Regions from separate parts of the Homo sapiens genome. Here region 1 is linked to region 2. The links are contacts of gene promoters, found by promoter capture Hi-C in blood cells and fetal thymus (Javierre and others, 2016). All regions are on one chromosome and are shown on one strand. The core of a region is centred on a gene start or on the middle of the fragment in contact, and the rest is flanking DNA. Distances in the headings are between cores, read along the strand shown. Region 1 has its middle 36 kb from the start of BOLA3. Region 2 holds the start of DGUOK-AS1 (DGUOK antisense RNA 1).

What was found. The method cuts DNA at HindIII sites, captures the fragments that hold promoters and counts their contacts. A CHiCAGO score of 5 or more calls a contact.
Region 1: a fragment that was not itself captured here is called in contact with the fragment with the promoter of DGUOK-AS1 in region 2 in 1 of 17 cell types (erythroblasts); the score reaches 5.1 in erythroblasts.

Annotation. Positions count from the first base shown.
Region 1 is chr2:74,108,971-74,114,682 of GRCh38, forward strand. It overlaps a transcript of TET3 not described here. Among named protein-coding and RNA genes, the nearest start is that of BOLA3, 36 kb to the right of the region's middle. The HindIII fragment of the contact is 659 bases long and covers 2,264-2,922 here.
Region 2 is chr2:73,979,692-73,984,598 of GRCh38, forward strand. DGUOK-AS1 (DGUOK antisense RNA 1) reads right to left here and starts at 1,748. Exons shown (of 2, transcript NR_104030.1): 1 at 1,444-1,748. It also overlaps a transcript of TET3 not described here. RefSeq lists an enhancer at 3,595-4,518 and a silencer at 4,692-4,907. The HindIII fragment of the contact is 8,489 bases long and covers 107-4,907 here.

The sequences.
Region 1 (5,712 bases), core at 1,343-3,842, 130 kb after region 2:
CTTTGCTTGCAAAGGAACCCACTGGAAATGCCTTGGCACACCTGGCTATCCAGGGATCCTCAAACATGTTTATATGTTTTACAAAAGTGGGGTCACACTGTGTTTTGTAACCTGCTTTCCTCCTTGAGTTGGAAGAGACCTAGTTCTGTCCCCTTCCTGAGCGCCTGTCATGATGGATCCATCTGCAGAGCCTGAAGGGAGGGCCAGGACATTCCTCCTTCAGCTGGGGCTGGTTTCACTATTGGTTAGCTATAAATATGCTGCCATCTCTTCTTATACAAGTTCCATGTTAAATATAGAAAATTAGAAGACAGAAGTTCTTAAAAGTTATCTGAAATCCCACCACGAGAGAACCGCATATTGGTTGCAAACATTTTGAGTGTGTAAATACGACCCATATGTATTTTTTCAAATGGAATACAATAATACAATCTTGTAATCTTTTTGCACTTAAACTATCTTTATCAGTATGCAGAATAGCATCTTTTTAAATAGTTGCCTAGCAATGTTTTTAGTATGGATACAGAAGCATTTAATCATCCCTGTATCACCAAACTCTTTAACATCCCAAGTTGTTGCAATTATAAATTGAACTAATCTAAATGTGCCTCCATGTAAATCCCACTCAGTCTATTTCTTTCTACGCTGAGAAGCGTTGCAGTAAATTCCCCTCTGCCACGTGACTACATTCTTAATTCCATAAACCTTCTTGTAACAGGTCCAGGCCCTGTCCACCACTACTCCCCACCGTGCCCCCGTCTGTTCACACCTAGAGCATCATTATTCATATTGGGATCTCTAGAAATGAGCAATTTGTTCCAGATGGGATCCGGCTCATGCAAGCCAAGCACAAAGACACCAAGGAGCCCCACGATCTGGACACACTATTTTTATGAGTGTACACCAAGGTTTATTAGCTTTTTAAGCAGCGGCTTGTGGCTTGGAAAGAACATAGATCCCTCACTTCCCAATTGTGTGATTTGATGAGGGTTTCATCTCCCTGTGTCATTTTGTCAATAAGACAGGCTAATGATACCACATAAGATATAAGGATAAAAAAATTGCTACAGAAGTGAAAGTGCCAGGCATTCGGGACATAGCAAGTAATAAGAGCTATCATTATTACTCTTGACATATGCAAAGCTTTAGATCACTAAGGAATCCAAGACTAGTCTTGGGACCACATAGTGACCTCTTCAGTGAACTTTTGCCAAATCAGGTCCACTAACTCAAGTCTGCGTGCAATTTTTTTTTTTAATGCTTCACACAGCAGTTGAAATGTAGCCATCTTAAATGAACTGTTTAACCCACTCTCCCTGCCTATTTTGAATCTTAATTTTGTCAAATATTGGTTTACCCAACCCAGCTACACAACTTGGTCAGCAACTTTGTTGTGTGTTCTGATGCTCTTGTAAGCTTCTTAAGCTTGGAGAGCTGTTAGTCATCTTTGTCTCCCATTGTACTCTGAAAATAATGGGCATTCAACGTCCCATGTCCATGGGATGGTGCATCCATACATACATCATGTCCCTGCAAGGGGACATGAAGCCCTAAAAACATGTTCGACACACATAATCCAGTGTACATTCTTGTCAGAGCCATGAACACAACATAGAAGACGTGAAAGACAAAGCTTTGTTAAATTCTAGATACCCCCCAGCACCTCATCCCCACTCCAGAGGTCTTAGCAGAGGCCTGCTTTCCTCTACTGAGAAGCCCAACCCCAGGCCCAGGGAGCCTGCCCAATTTCCCTCACCACACTTCAAACCATCTTCCTGTATGTTTGTCCTCTTTACTGTACACACACCCCTGCTGCTCGGTACCCCTGACTCTCACTCTCCATGTGCACCCTGTGCTGCTCCTGTGGAACATGCTTCATCCATTAACCCTTTTCTGTGGCTTCTCCCCATCACGTGCTCTCAGGTTCACCCCAGCCTGACCCTGCTGTGCCTCATAGACCTTTCCCACTCCTTCCTATCACCACCACATATCTGCAGGTGTAGACAACCTCCTAGCTTGAAGGTCCATACCACTCACTCACCTGTACCTTTATTTCTCCAGAAATAGTCAGCTTCTGAGCCAGGGATCCTCATCCTCACTGACCTCTGTGAAGCCCTGGAAACCCTCTGCTCCCGGACTGCATAGCCAGGAACATTCCATTGTCCCAGGACCCTGCCCCCTTTCATGAGCCCCTTTGTGACCTCTTGTCCTTTAAACACAAATGCCCCCAAAAGAATCGACTCAGTCTTCTCCACAGACTATAAGCTTTCCTTCAAAGGACTTGTTCAGCCACCAGGCCTCAACTATGACCCTAATGCCAATGATTTCCAAAGCCATGTCTAGCCTCATGAGTTTGGGCTGCTGGATAGCTCTGGGTGGCTCTTTGGTAAGGTCAAAGTCTTAACCAAAACTGACCTCTCAACTCTCCACCAAATTTCCTATTCTCCCAGTCATATCCTGACACCTGCCAAGTCTAGATTCTACATCCTCAGCATTCTCAATCCTGCTTCTCTTTGCTACTTTTATTAGCAACCCACATTGTACAGTCATACAGGCTATGCACTGCACAACTCTGGGGAACACCATTCATACAGACTACCATGTGTAAGCCTTAATTACAGATATGGACTCCTCCCTGATATGGACAGAGGCATGTTGGACAAGGACCACAGTATAGCCCTCTAAAGCTGGGGACCCAGGGCAGAGGCCTCTCATATCTTGGTCTAAATGTGAGACCCTTCAGAAAGGTTGAATGGCTTGCTCAAGACCATCCAGCTAGGAAATGGCAGAGCCCAGAATCAACCCAGGTGTATTTGGTGCCAAAGTTTGTGCCCTATCCAAATATACCCCTGTTTCTTCTGTACCTTAAGACCCACAAACCCAAGGGACATTGTCCTCACTGGTGGGAATCTACCTACCTAAAGCTTAGGGCATGACCTGAGTCTGTGGGTCTATGGGCACAAGAGGCACAGGTTGCAACAAAGTGGCTCCACAGGAAGACTTTGGCTCTTCAGAGCATCTTCAACAGGTATTGTTATTTGAAAGACTTCAATTCTAGCCCCCATTTGATCTCCCTGCCCAGCTTACCAAAGCCAATCTCCTTACTCAGATAATCTTTCTAAAAACCAAATCAGATGATACTATTTCCCTGTAATACTCCTCGATACTCCCCATTTGATACAGCTCTCAGGATAAGACACATTTTAACTTTGCCGCAGGGCCCCACAGGACTTGGCCCCAGCTTGCATCTTTAGTAACACTGCAGGCCATTTGGTGTCTTTTATCTGATTATCTCCTTGGTGCACCTCCCCATGTGGCCTCTCAAATATGAAGGGTCTTCTGATGGTAATGCCAGTAATACCACCAAGAACCCACTCCTTTTATTTACTTATTTGCTTTTAAAGTATCTGTAAGAAACTAACTCCTTTTGAAATCCATTAAAACATTTACATAAACTATAAAACCGCTCCAAATAAAGAAAATTATCAATAAGAACCAAAACATCAGCAAAATTATACTCAAGGAAGTAAATAAACAGGAAACCAAGTTAACCAAGTTATCTAAAGCCAAATAAAAAGTTTTACTACATAAAAAACAATATGCAGATCTAAGGGTATAAAATTTTTTAAAATTATTTTAAAAAACAAATATTAAGAACTCAAAGACTAGTAATGAGTGCTTTGCAAGAAATACAAGAGATTAGACAGTGACTACAATCTACTTTCAAAAAGATTAAAAATACCCACAGCAGGCTGGGTGCAGTGGCTCACGCCTATAATTCCAGCACTTTGGGAGGCTGAGGTGGATGGATCATGAGGTCAGAAGTTCAAGACCAGCCTGGCCAACACGGTGAAAGCCCGTCTCTACCAAAAATACAAAAATTAGCTGGGCAAGGTGGTGCGTTCCTGTAATCCCAGCTACTCGAGAGGCTGAGGCAGGAGAACTGCTTGATATGGGACCCGAGAGGCAGAAGTTGCAGTGAGTGCAAATCTCACCACTGCACTCCAGCCTGGGCTACAGAGTGAGACTCCGTCTCAAAAAAAAAAAAAAAAAAAAAAAAAAAAACCCACAGTTAACATCTTACTGAATGGAGAAAAGCTGAAAGCTTTTCCTCTGAGAACTGGAACAAGACAAGAATGGCCAGGCGCAGTGGCTCACACCTATAATCCCAGCACTTTGGGAGGCCGAGGCAGGCAGATCACGAGGTAGTTCGAGACCAGCCTGGCCAACATGGTGAAACCCTGTCTCTACTAAAAATACAAAAAATTAGCCGGGCATGGTGGCACATGCCTCTAATCCCAGCTACTCGGGAGGCTGAGGCAGGAGAATCACTTGAACCCGGGACGTGGAGGTTGCAGTAAGCGGAGATCACGCCACTGTACTCCAGCCTGGGTGACAGTGTGAGACTCCGTCAAAAAAAAAGAATGTCCACTCTCATTACTCTTATTCAACGTAGTACTAGAAGTCCTACCCAGAGCAATTAGGCAAGAACTTGAAATAAAAGGCATCCAAATGGAAAAGGAGGAAGTCAAATTGTCCCTGTTTGTAGATGACAGGATCACATATATATAAAAACCTAAAGACTCTACCAAAGAACTCTTAAAACTGATAAATTCAGTAAAGTTGCAGGATAAAAAAAAAAATTACATACACAAATCAGCAGTTATTTCCATACATGTACAACAAACTTAGCTGAAAAAGAAATCAAGAAAGCAATCCCATTTACAGTAGCTACCAAAAAATAAAATAAAATACCTAAGAATAAATTTAACCAAGGAGGTGAAAGATGTCTACAAGGAAAACTACAAAACACTGATGAAAGATATTGAAGAGGATACAAACAAATGGAAAGACATCCCATGCTCGCAGATTTGGAAAAATTCATATTATTAACATAATAATACTACCCAAAGCAAGCTACATATTTAATGCAATCCCTATCAAAATACCAATGACATTCTTCACAGAAATAGAAAAAAAAATCCTAAAATTTGTATGAAACTACAAGAGACCTCAAATAGCCAAAGCAATCCTGAGCAAAAAGAACAAATCTGGAGGTATCACACTATCAGGCCTCAAAATATACTAAAAAACTGTAATAACCAAAACAGCATGGTACTGGCATAAAAATAGACACAAAGACTAATGGAACAGAATAGAGAACCCAGAAACTAATCCACATACTTACAGACAACTGATTGTTGGCAAAGATGCCAAGAATACTCACTGGGGAAAGGACAATCTTTTGAACAAATGGTGCTGGCTTATAAGTGGGAGCTAAGCTATGAGGACAGAAAGGCATAAAAGTGATATAATGGACCTTGGGGACTCGGGGGGGAGGGCTGGAAGGAGGATAAGGGATAAAATACTACATATTGGGTACAGTGTACACAGCTTGGGTGATAGGTGCACTAAAATCTCAGAAATCACCACTAAAGAACTTATCCATGTAACCAAAAACCACCTGTATGCCAAAAATTATTGAAATAAACAATGTGAATACACTTAATGCCATTGAATTGTACACTTAAAATCATAAATTTTATGTTCTGTATATTTTACCACAATAAAATTAAATCTCTTAAAAGTTAAAAAAGCAGGCTGGGCATGGTGGCTCACGTCTGTAATCCCAGCACTCTGGGAGACCGAGGCAGGTAGATGACTTGAGGTCAGGAGTTCAAGACCAGCCTGGCCAACATGGTGAAACCCCCG
Region 2 (4,907 bases), core at 498-2,997:
TTCCTGCACATAGCAGGATTGTACTTATTGCACTTCCCTGCCCCCTTGTAACTTTCTTTGGCCAGTGAGATGACAGCAGGAGTGATGTGTGTCACTTCCAGGGAAAAGCTTTAAGAGCCAGTGCTAGATTTGCCCCATTCTTGTTTCCTGCCTTCAGGGTTGAGGAGATGCATGTCCAGTTGCAGCAGCCTGGATGCCCGAGTGATTACGGGAAACAGAGCTCCTAATGACTCATAATGGACACGTTTTGTGATTGAGAAATACACTTTTGTTATGTAAAGCCACTGTGATTTGGGGATTGTCTATTACTCCAGCACAATCTAACTGATCCTGACTGATACACCCTGTCAACCAAGGCTCAGGGGCACCAAGGCCTTTATCCCTGTTGGGTATTCCTTCCATTATGATGGGTACCCTTGCATTCTCCTTGCAAGTAATGAAGCCTATTTGATTCAAAAAATTCAAAATGCAGTCACAAAACTAGTTATAAAACATGAGGACATTTGCGGGGCTATTGAAAAACGTAGTAGCCGGGCGCGGTGGCTCACTCATGTAATCCCAGCAGTTTGGGAGGTCGAGGTGGGTGGATCATGAGGTCAGGAGTTCAAGACCAGTCTCTACTAAAACTACAAAAATTAGCTGGGCGCGGTGGCAGGTGCCTGTAATCCCAGCTACTCGAGAGTCTGAGGCAGGAGAATCATTTGAACCTGGGCAGCAGAGGTTACAGTGAGCCCAGATCGCGCCACTGCACTTCAGCCTGGGTGACAAGAGTGAGACTCCATCTCAAAGAAAAAAAAAAAACCAAAACCCAAAACCAAAACAAAACAAAAAACCCAAAAACGCATAGCATAGATATCCTACACGTGTCACACTCACCAATGCAGGTCCACAAGCAACCCACTAATGAACCTCCCTTTCCCTGAGAGCAAAATGCCAGCTTCTGCCTGGTATCAGCTCTAGCATTCGTGGGCTAATTTCAGAGGTCCTGGATTGTAGGTCCTGGATTCTGACATGTAGTAGTGAATGACCTTGGACAAATTACCTCACTGAGCGCCAGTTCTCTTATCTGTAAAATGGTGATGATAATAAAAACTATGTCATAGATAAGGAAAGTTAACATTTGCACATTTGTTGTATTTGCCACTCTGTGCAGACAGAAGGATAATGTGTGTGGAAGTGCTTTGAAAAGGGAAAGATCTATGCAAATATTAGTTGATAATATTTTTAGCCAATACATGACCAAAGAAGTAATACATCCAAAATCAAATAAACCTCCCAATACCTTCAGTCTTTAAAACCAAGCCCAGGTATGGATATCGGGATGTATTTACATTTCTGCAAAAGGTCCCCATACGCAAATCTCATTCTTAAATAAGGACAAATTACTCATTAGCTGAAGAGGAGAGAGGTCAAGTACCTGAGGAGGTTAGTCACATCAATCACCTGAGAGTTCAGCAGCATCCAACAGTGTTAGTTCCACGTGTTAACTTCCTGAAGAACCACAGGCTTGCACATCCAATTATGCTTCCTGTCCCTTTCCTCCCCCGTGCGGAATCAACTTCAGCTCATCAATGGGGTAGGAAAGCCTCCTTATTTCGCACCCTCCATGCTCCAGGCATCCAGGGAAATGCCCCTGCCACCCCTATCTCCCTTGAGTTCTTAGGGCTTCCTCCTCTAGCAAGGAGATTTCCCTTTCTAGTCCCGGGGGCAGCGGCACAGCCCGGCTCTGACCTCGCGGGAGCAGTCGCCTAAAAGAGGCTCCGCCCTTGGCCGCTTGGGGTGGCGCCCGCCAAACCCGCTCCTAAAAGGAGCCTCTCTCCCTCTGTCTGCTCTAAGCGCCTTGGGGGCCTAATCGCAGTCTCCACCTGGGTGCTGAACTTCCTTCTCCCCCGCTTGCTGTAGTCCAGTGCTGCTCTAACTTGACTTCACCTGACGGACTAATTAAAACAGATTGCTGGGCCCGCCCCCAGGGTTTCTGATTCAGTGGGGTTAGGATGGGGCCGAGAGCTTGCATTTCTAGCCAGTTCCCAGGAGATGGTGATGCTGCTGGTGCCGGGGCTCTCTTGGCGGAACCACTGCGTCTAGGCTAATGCAGCCCCAGGAAGGGCTCGCCCTATCCCTACGCCCACCCCCGCTGCTCTCCTGCCCTGAGCGCAATGTGAATGGGAATAGCCGCAGCAGCCCAGGAGGCTGGAGAACCAGAAGGCAGGACCTGAGGAGTTTAGGCTGTTTTATCTTGGGCGCCCCTGACCAGTTTGTGCAAGTCGTAAAGAAAGCAGGAAAGAAGCCTATGGGTCTTCAGTGTTACTGGGGTCTGTCATTCATTAGGGTCTACTCACCTCGTCTCTTCATTCAACACAGTGGTTGGTTGCTAGGTCTAGGGTTATGAGGTGAAAGACAGCGTGCTACCCTTCCAGGAGTTTGTAGTAACTGGGAAAGAAACATGCAAACCATTCCAGTGCCCAGCGCCGATGAGATAACTGTTCCTAGGCAGGGAGAGTCAAACTTCTGTGGAGGGAGAGTGGGTGGGGCTCTGGAATCATCTGAGCAGCTGGAGGTTTCATGGAACTGGCACTTATGACTTGCAGGATGAGTGGGAATTTGGCAGGTACAAGGGGTAGCTGAGAAGGGGTGGGGTGGGAAGGGTTTTTCCCCAGGCAGAAGGAATGAGCAACAGGACTGCCGAAGTGTAAGGTTCCAGAGGCCGGGAAGATATGACAGGCAGCTCTCTAGCCTGGCTGGGTTCCCTCCAACCTCTCTGGCGGCGCCTTCTCAGCTCCTGTCCCTCATGGGCTGGTATTCCCTGGGGCTCTGTCCTGGCAGCCTTTCCCTCTCACACTCCATATCCACCCTGGATGAGCTCCTCCACAACTGAGGCCTCGCTGTCTGCTCACTGATGGGGCCCAAATCTCAAACCCAGGCCTCACCCCCTCAGTTGCACACTCACTTTCACACGAATGTCTCCATCCCCAGGCATCCTTCCTTCTGCATTTTGTCACAGTGAATGGCACCAGCATTCACCCAGTTACCTAAACGAGAGGGCTTTATGAAATGACCCTCTCATAGATTGCTGGCAAAGAGTAAATGACACAGTAACTTGCTGGTGCCATTTACCCAGACAGAATACAAGAGGATGGCTGCTGGGCTCCTCTGAAAGTCCACAACTTACTAGCTGAGTGATCCTGGGCAAGTTATTTAATCTGTTTTCTTATCCATAAAATGGGTTTGATGATAGTACCTACCTCACAAGGTTGTCATATGGATTAAACAATATTAGTTGTTGTCATTCATTGAGCCCTATATTAAGTCTTTTACTTGGATTCCCTTGAAGATGGAGTACCTAGTCCAAGGTCACACTGTTACCAAGTGGCAGATTCAGGTTTGGAAGCCAGAGTTCTCTGGCTCCTGAGCCATCTTCTTCACCTCACTGTCACACTTTCTGAAAACTGTATACCAAACAGGGAAATGCCTATGGTACAATGTTAAGTTAAAAGAGGATGGCAAATTGTATAATCAGTGTGAGTAAATCCACAAATAGGAAAGGCTACAAGGAAATATAGCAAATGGTTAAATATGGTTGTAATTTGGTGATTTTTCCCCTCTAGTATCTGTAGTCTCCACGTCTTCTTTATACACATTTTTTATTAATAAAGTTGCTTATTAAAAATATATTACATTAAAAACAATTACGAGTCTGCAACCTGTTCCCCTGTTTGAAAATTGCACTCTCTTGGTTTTTCGTCTCGGTTCTAGTCTTACTACCCTGAACAGAAACTCTTCAGTCCTCCCAAAGGCCATGGTAGGAAGTGGATATTGCAGCCATGTTCACCCCCACCCACTCCCTCGCTGACAACCTGGACCCTGGAGCAGGCTGTCAAAATCAGAGGGAAGTTCCAGATAGAACCCGGGCTGCTTTACCGCCTAGGGCTTTCTGGACAGCGCTACTTCAGATCAGTTACTTTTTTTTCTTTCTTTCTAAATAGCCGGCCGAATGCTCTTTTTCCAGTTCTGGCTAAGCTGTTAGCTGCAGCCGGGCGGCGACGCCTGCCAGGTACCTGGCTCCGTGAGCACCGCCCAAACTGGTCAGGCCAGTCCGTCCTGTGGCTGTTTCTGCCAGGACTCGCCCGAGTGTGTGTGTGCGCGTGTATGTCAGAGACCCACCCTGCTCCCCTGCAACCGAGGTAGGTGGAAGGCAGTTGCAGGCACCAGCCTGGCAGTCAGGCCAGATGGGTGGGGCTGAATTAATCTAACCTGGAATTTCAACTTGGCCTGCACAACAGGTGAGGGAAAAAAGCAGCAGAGAGAACGGGCAGTTTGGCAACTTGGAAATATTCCTGAGCCCTGCCCCTTACCCCCTGCCTGGAACGTAGCCCAGGGTGACTCTTCAAAGTGTCTGCGCCGGGTTTTAGGGCTTAGTCGCCCCACGGCCCCCTCGAGGCTGTCCGAGGCCCTCCTGAACGCTGTCCTCCTCAGTTACCCTCCGCGACGCGCCCGTTCCCCCTCCTCTGGGAGGCAGGGCGGGGGTATCGGATTAGTCTTTGTTTTCGACGCGAAAGAATCGAGCGCGGCGCGGGGGAGGCTGGTGATGGCAGGGCCGTGGGGTCCACCTGGACAGGGCATTCGGCCGTGACCCCTGCGAGGGTGCCCTTAGCCTCTGCCCCCGAGCAACCCCTTCTTGCCGGCCAGGCTGACTCGGTACGCAAACGCGCGATGTCCCCCATTGTCCTGCCTCGGAATGAGCCAGCGGCAGCTGGGACAGGGGGGTCAGTCGGGCCCGGCGCTCAGGCCTCCCGGGGGCGCCGGGGCTGTCCCGGACAGATCTGGCCCGCAGGGAGTGGCAGGAAGTGGGGACACCGAGCGAGGCTCGGCCGAGGGCCTAGGCTGGAAGGTCCGCGTGCCCCACCCCG